Regions from separate parts of the Homo sapiens genome. Here region 2 is linked to region 1. The links are contacts of gene promoters, found by promoter capture Hi-C in blood cells and fetal thymus (Javierre and others, 2016). All regions are on one chromosome and are shown on one strand. Each heading gives the region's core, a stretch centred on a gene start or on the middle of the fragment in contact. The rest is flanking DNA. Distances are from core to core; before and after follow the strand shown. Region 1 holds the start of STX19 (syntaxin 19). Region 2 overlaps NSUN3 (NOP2/Sun RNA methyltransferase 3).

Region 1 (3,971 bases), core at 1,046-3,545:
GATCTTATTTGTATCTCTTTTTACTTATGCTGAAAACTACAGTTTCTAATGACATTATTTGTTTTATCCAACTATATATAGGAATTTTAACATAATAATATCAATATGATTACTAAATATTAAGACTACTAAGTGCAGGTTAACATATCTTTGTGGTTACGTATCTTTGTCTCTACGCTATATCCCACTAGAGATGCAGAGTCAATAATACTGTTTTAAAATTACTTAAAATAGTACTTCTCTGTGTGGTTTTGCCATCACCTAGATATATACCTAGGTTCATTTCTTTCTAGGTGCTTTTGCATTTTAGAGATCGTTTGTGTATTTGTTTTAAGATTTAATTTCTAAAATATTTATATCGGCTGGACGTGGTGGCTCACACCTGTAATCTCAGCACTCTGGGAGGCCAATGTGGGTGGATCATTTGTCAGGGGTTCAAGACCAGCTTTGCCAACATGGTGAAACCCTGTCTTTACTAAAAAAAAAAAAAAAAAAAAATGAGCCAGGCGTGGTGGCGTGCACCTGTAATACCAGCTACTCGGGAGGCTGAGGCATGAGAATCGCTTGAACCCAGGAGGCAGAGGTTGCAGTGAGCCGAGATCGCGCCACTGCACTCCAGGCTGGGTGACAGAGTGAGACCCTGTCTCAAAAAATAAAAATAAAAAAATATTTATATGGTTCTAAATTCAGAACTATAAAAACAAGGTACAATCAGAAAGGAACTATTTGCTATCTCTCTGCCTTTTCCTTCCCTTCCCTTATAGGTAACCATTTTCATTCGTGTTTAGTTCATCCTCCCATTATTTCTTTTTGAAAATATAAACAAGCGTATGGAGAAAATGGTATTTCAAGGACCATAATTTGGGCACTGTGAATATTCAATGCTATTGACTGGTTTATGTATTTGTGTATATATACAATATTTATATCTACCCTTCCTTTCTTCCTAAAACTTAGCATATTATATATATTCTTCTGCAGCATGCTTGTTTTAACTGAACAGTAAATTTTGAAGTACCCTGAAGCAGTATAATAAAATCTTCACTATTTTCTATAATTGCAAAATGCTCCCCTTTGAATGTTCCATCATTTATTCAGCCAGTTCTACGCTGAAGGACTTTTGTGTTTCCAGTGTTTTGTTTTTACAAAGAGTGCTATAAAAAGTAGGTGTGTAAAGGAGTCATTTCTTATTTTGAGTACAGATTCCAGGAAGTAGAACTGTTAAAACAAAGAATAAATATAAATGTGATTGGCCGGGCATGGTGGTTCACATCTGTAATCCCAGAACTTTGGGAGGCTGAGGCAGGTGGATCACCTGAGGTCAGGAGTTCGAGACCAGCCTGGCAAACATGGTGAAACCCCATTTCTACAAAAAAATTAGCTGGGCGTGGTGGCAGGCAACTGTAATCCCAGCTACTTATGGGGCTCAGGCAGCAGAATTGCTTGAACCCGGGAGACGGAGGTTGCAGTGAGCCAAGATCGTGCCACTGCACTCCAGCCTGGGCTACAAGAGCAAGACTCCTTCTCAAAAAAAAAAAAAAATAAAAAAAAAATAAATATATATATATATATATATATATATATATATATGATTTTGATAGATACAGCAATTTCCTTCTTCTTGCCCTCAAATAGTAACAAGTCAGGTAGAAAAAATGGGTCTGAAATTTGGTAGTACAAGAGAAATTTTCATTTTTAATTCTTCCTATAAACATTTCCCTCTGGTATAAATTAATTTTGAGTTGTTATATTGACAAAATAAATGATTTAACATATATTGCTGGATAACTTTAGTTCTATATAAAATTTATTTTAAAATAAAAACAGCAGGCATAATAAAAAGTAAAAAAAATTAAAAGTAACGTGGGATGAATGGTTTACAGACATGAGCTCTTTCCTGGATGTTCTCCTTCTGAAATTCTATGATTTTGTGAGCTAAGCTCTTTTGGGATTTCCTAAAATAGGACAGATTTCAACCATTTTAAAGTAAATGGAACAAAAAAAGCTTTTACACCAAGCTTCTTTTCATTCCTATTTAATTCCATATTTTTAGTAAGTTTTGATATCTATAGAAAAGAAAGTAACCTTTGTTTAAATACAAACCCATTTTCTTGGAATAATATATTACATATACAATGTAGGACTAAATTTGCAGATCCAGTGCCAAATACTCTACGTAGGCAGTTTAACGAGGACTTCCTGTTACCGACTAGCTCCAATGAAAATGATCTTCCTTTAATCTAAAGAATAGGCGTCTAACAGGCAGAACCAGATTCTCCAGGTGTGAAGTAAGCAATCTATTTTCACTTGCTATTAACAGCAAACGTACAACTTTATCTCTTATTTGACTTCATTATTTGGCTTTCAAATTAACAACATGAAAACTATACAGAAATTAGTCTGTGCCCTATAAGACAGAGATTTAGATAATTTGTTCAAAACATGAGATGATATTCAGATATTCTCTCAAAGGCAGGACTCCAACACCGCAGGTGGAAAACCAACAAAAGGAAGAAAACAGAAAGGTAAATAATGACTCTTTTCTGTACTTTTTAATATGAGGTATCCATAGACTGACATCTGGTTACACTGTTACATTTAAAAATCACTCAACAAATAATGAGGGTTACTTGTTTTGCTCAGATTTGGACCGGGGTACCAGTAGCTGATTTGTTCACATATATTACTGACATGCTGACTGGGATCTGGGTATAAAGCTCTTGAAAATAGACTACGATAATAAAAATCAACTTTAGAGGAAAGAAAAAATTTTTAAGTCTTTTAAAAAGTAAGCTCTCATTTAAAAAATACTAGAAAGTCAGATGTAAAAACAGATCTAAAATTATTTCTTTTATAGACAGACTATGAATGTGCTTACTTTAGAGAACATTTTTATATTTCACTCTGAAAAGCAGCTTATACCCAAATTTGACACATACGTATAACCTTAAAAATCTGAAATAATTTGCTATAATGGTCTTAATTGCTTCATTGTTGTTTACTAGAATCTTCTAAAATTGAAAAAATGAGAAAATAATCTTGTGAAAGGGCTACCAGAAAATATCGAAGTACTCACTAACCTTTATAATATTTCAACTAGTACATTAAAAATACTTGTTATACCATTTAACGTAAGTGTTAGCATTTAATTGATAGTTTGAAAAATTTAAATCAGCATCATTTAAATACAACATATGTAGATAGGTTAGATACTTTCAAAGTTATAATTGTTACTATGTTAGAATTTAATAAATATTCCATTTCAAATCAAAATAATAATGACTTTTATATGTATTTTAAAGGTGGACTTGAGAATTGGCCACGTAATACCTCGAACACATTATCTTCACAGCTATGCAGTTTTAAATGTAATATAAAAATCATTTTATGTATGTACAGCTTACTTGAATCAGATAAAAGTTCAAAAATTATACATCATATTTAAACAAAAATGATCTTAATGTTGTTATACAAGTTAATTCAATAAGTTATTTAGACTAAATAAAATGTAGAAAAAAGCATTGAAAGTTTACATTGCAAAAAAAGTCAGATACTTCAAAATTAGACAATATATGCAATTTGCAATTTTTTTTTAGTTTTTAGAAACTACTATTTGGCCCTCACTTTAGTAGCCAAAGAGGTTAATATATTACAATAAGATCCTCTGCTTTCACTTGCACTAGAAAAATGTGGCAAGTTGACTTCATATACAAAAGCAACAGAATATTCTGTTTTCTCTTGGGTAAAAACTGGTCATATTTCTTGAAATGTTTTATTTAATCATTACAGTAACTATGAAAAGAAATGGCCTACTTTAAAAAAATCTATAAATACACTAAGTATCTATCCCAGGGCATATTTCTAAAAGTACAAGGTAATTTTTACTCATGTTTCTGTTTCTAGGGATTTTCAGTGTCTGTAATAGGGCAGAGAACCTTTTATTTGAGTCGCACCAGTTTACTTTTCTATTT
Region 2 (4,172 bases), core at 1,601-4,100, 92 kb before region 1:
TTTTTGAACTTCAAGAACAAAGAGGTGTTTAATGCCTCCAAAGAGAAAAACAGGTCACCTATTACGAGCCCAGGAATCAGACTGGTATCAGTGGAGAAATACATTCCAAATCCTAGGAAAAAGCAATTTAAAGTGAATTCTATTTGCAGCCAACTCATAAAATAAATATGTAGCAAGAATCCAGAAACTTGCAGATATCTCATGACTCCGAAATTTTAATTCTAGTAAAATGAGGAAATAAAGCAAGAAAGAGGAAAAATGTAATTCAGAAAAGAGTGCATGCAACATAGAAGAGCAGTGAAAGGAGTGAAGCCTCAGAGTGAGAGCTGCGTGGGAGGCCTGGAAGGCAACTACTGCAGTCTGGAAAAAGAGGGAGCTCTCCAGAAGGAAGGGAGAAGGGAGAGAAGTAAAAGAGATGAAATGACTGAAAACTGAGAAAAACTTGAAGATTTGGTATACATAATTGGGAGGGAAAGGGAGAGATCAACTTGTCTCATCTATCTGATTCTAGAAAAAATGTTTCAGTGGTATTCTGCTCATGAGATTGAACCAAGAGACAAGGAATTTTAATTCTAACATATTATTCCATTATGCAGTGGACAATATTTATAGAATTAAACAATATACACCACTTATGGGTCTTCAATGTTCAGAATTACTCCAAAGACCAAACTTACTATTGTTACAGAACAGATTTTAAGGTCTCAGAAAGAATATGATCAACCTTGACAACATGAAAGTACAGCTGTAAGATACTGGGAAGTAGAAGGGAGAGAGAAATGGAAGGCAGGGTGGGCGTGTAAGTGTTCTTATTTTATAAAAATAAAAGGCAAAAGACATTTGCCTCTAATTATTTTTTTAAAAGAATAAAGATAAATGAAGAAAAAAAGACAAAAAAGGTGTGATGTGTATTTAAGAGAACTTTCCCCCACTAATAGAATAAGAAATGTAGGTCTAAGTGTATGGTACTAAGTTTCAGAGCCGACAGAGAGAAACTGAGTACAGTGTGAGATTGCAGGGTGCAGGGTAGTGTGATGAGGGAAGGGTGGTGTAAGTGACATAAATCCTTGGGATAGGGCAGTAGTTAATGTCTAATTTTTTGACAATTTTAGAAAATGAATAAACGTATTATTTAGAGATTTGGGGGTGACCTGAAGAATGAATTAGGAACCAAAATCATTAGAAGCAATTGCCTCTGAGGACTAAGACTGGAGGAAGAGAGGAAGAGTTGCAGGGGAGCAATCCTTTTCACTAGGAGCTCATTTGTAGTTTAATTTTTTACCCATCTGATTTATTTCTGTAATACAAATTAAAGGGGAGATTTGACAAAAGAATAAATATCAGAGCTTTTGCCATGGAGGTCACTTAAATTGTTTTTTTTTTTTTTTTTTTTAGGTGGGGGGATGAGTCTTGCTCTTGTTGCCAAGACTGGAGTGCAGTGGTGCAATCCTGGCTCACTGCAACCTCCACCTCTCCAGTTCAAGCAATTCTCCTGCCTCAGCCTCCTGAGTAGCTGGGATTACAGGCACCTGCCACCACGCCTGGCTAATTTTTGTACTTTTAGTAGAGACGGGGTTTCACCATGTTGGCCAGGCTGGTCTCAAACTCCTGACCTCAGGTGATCCGCCCGCCTTGGCCTCCCAAAGTGCTGGGACTACAGGCATGAGCCACCACGCCTGGCCAGTTATATGTATTTTTAAAAATTTTGACTGTTAAGGGATAACCTCTCTAGAAAAGGTATTCCCTGAGGTTCCAGATAACTAAAATTTTATGGTATCCAGGATTTCTATACATCTCATGTATTCATTTATTGATTAAAGAGATATTTTGGGGGTTCCTACCACTGAGGGTCTTCTCATACTTCGGTGTTTGTTGTTAGTCTCTAAAAAAACTTTTTCTATGTTTCCTCTCCTCACTATTCACTGCCCTCTAAATATTCCCCATGGAAACAAAAAAGGCTCCTATCTAGATGCTGGAGATGTGAACTGCTAAAGGGATAATAAATATCCTGCGGTAGGAAGAATGAAAACCCCTCAAAGATGTCCACATCCTAATCCCCAGAACCTGTAAGCAAGCCATTTTACATGGGAAAAGGCTATGTGCAGATGTGACTAAATTAAGGATCCTGCAATGGGGAGATTATCCTGGATTATCCGAGTGGGCCTGATGTAATCACAAAGGTCCTTTATCATTGAAAGAGGGAGGCAGAGAGTTGGTGAAGATGTGATGATGGAAGCCTGGGTTGAACTGACAGGATTGCTGGCCTAGGGCAAAGAGCTCAGGTATGTGAGCTGCTTCTGAAGGCTGGAAAAGGTAAGCAAACAGATTTTCCCTTAGCACCTCCAGGAGGAACACATCTCTGCCAGCATCTTGATATTAGTCCCACAGGGCTCATTTTGGACTTCTGACCTCCAGAAGCGCAAAGGTAACAAATCTGTGCTATTTAAAGCCACTAAATTTGTGGCAAATTGTTAACAGCAGCAATAGGAAACAACTAATACACATCTAATGATGGCGTTTTTTGTTTTCTCTTTTTTTGTTTTTACAGCAACACACTAAGGTAAAGGCCAATTTGCTAAGTAAAGTTGTAACTACATTCATTTTGGATCATTTTCTACTAACTATAGCAATAGGTATAAGACTTTCTTTAAAAATGTTAGATTATTAAAATGGTATAGCCACTATGGAAAACAATATGACGGCTCCTCAGAAACTTAAAAATCAAGTTATTATGTGCTCCAGCAATTCCACTTCTGGTCATATTCCCCAAACAATTGAAAGCAGGGTCTTAAAGAGATATTTGTACCCATGTTCATAGTAGCATTATTCACAATGGCCAAAAGATAGAAGCAACCCAAGTGTCCATCAGTGGATGAACTGCCAAGCAAAATGTGTAGACAGATACATAGATATGATGAAATATTATTCAGCATCAAGAAGGAAGAAAACTCTGACAGATGCTATAACATGGATTAACCCTGAGAACATTATGCTAAGTGAAATAAGCCAGTCACAAAAAAGAAATATCACATGATTCCACTTATATGAGGCATCTAGAATAGTCAAATTCATAGAGACAGAAAGTAGAATGGTGGTTGCCAGGGGCTAAGAAGTGAAGGGAATGAAGAGTTAGTGCTTAATGGATATCGACTTTCAGTTTTGAAAGATGAAAAGAGTTCTGGAGATTGGTAGTACAACAATGTGAATGTACTTAACACTATTGAACTGTACACTTAAAAATGGTTAAGATAGCAAATTTTATGTTATGTATTTTTAAACAATTAAAAATAGAGAAATACACAATAAAAATGTTAGATTATTGTGGATATAGGCAATATTTGAATTCAGATACTTCCAACCTCCCATGAAAATGACTATTTTGGTCTTAGTTCCACAATTAGCAAAGCCAATGCTTAATCAAGTAAGTATGATTCTTTTTCATTAAAGCTGTACAAAAGTACATAGAAGCCTCATAATTTACAAACAATATGTTCCTGGCTTAATGCAAATTTAAATTAATTTCTATAATGTTGCCAATGTTGGCTGATTCTTCTGCTTACCTTTCATTTCGACATTCATAATTTATCTTTCTAAAATTAGGCAGGTATAACTTAACTGCCCACATTAATTTCTAAATGAGAAAATTGTATGTGGTAACACAAAGCCTTTTTAAAACAAATTGGGTTAATCTCAAAACCATAAGGCAAATGTTAGGGATTCCTGTCAAATGGTCTTGCTGTTTTGCTACTGCTGCATGTTGTTTAAATATCATTTTAATCCTTTTGCTTTCAGTAGTTATGTATTTTAAAACTATCAGAAATTTGTATTCAAAGATAAAGGAAGGCAGGCAATTTGTAAAAACTCACTCCTAGGGTTTATAGCTAAGATTTTTCTACTCTGAGAATTATCTTATGCTATAGATCAGAGGACCCCAATCCCTGGGCCTACAGACCAGTACCAGTCTGTGACCTATTAGGAACCCAGCTGCACAGCAGGAGTTGAGTGGTGGGTGAGCAGGCATTACCACCTGAGCTCCGGAATCTAACTAATGCCTGATGATCTGAGGTGGAACAGTTTAATCCTGAAACCATCTCCCTGTCCCCCTCCCCCAGAGCCATAAATGCCATTTTTCTTACGAACTGAACCAGACCATGTTGTGGCCTCCCACTGCT

Evidence for each region. The method cuts DNA at HindIII sites, captures the fragments that hold promoters and counts their contacts. A CHiCAGO score of 5 or more calls a contact.
Region 2: a contact is called between a fragment that was not itself captured here and the fragment with the promoter of STX19 in region 1, in 1 of 17 cell types (activated CD4 T cells). The highest score is 5.1, in activated CD4 T cells.

What each region holds. Positions count from the first base shown.
Region 1 is chr3:94,026,921-94,030,891 of GRCh38, reverse strand. STX19 (syntaxin 19) reads left to right here and starts at 2,295. Exons shown (of 2, transcript NM_001001850.3): 1 at 2,295-2,525. The region is part of intron 3 of ARL13B (ARF like GTPase 13B); the gene reads right to left. The HindIII fragment of the contact is 4,986 bases long and covers 2,021-3,971 here.
Region 2 is chr3:94,119,373-94,123,544 of GRCh38, reverse strand. The region is part of intron 5 of NSUN3 (NOP2/Sun RNA methyltransferase 3); the gene reads right to left. Among named protein-coding and RNA genes, the nearest start is that of NSUN3, 58 kb to the right of the region's middle. The HindIII fragment of the contact is 8,206 bases long and covers 1-4,172 here.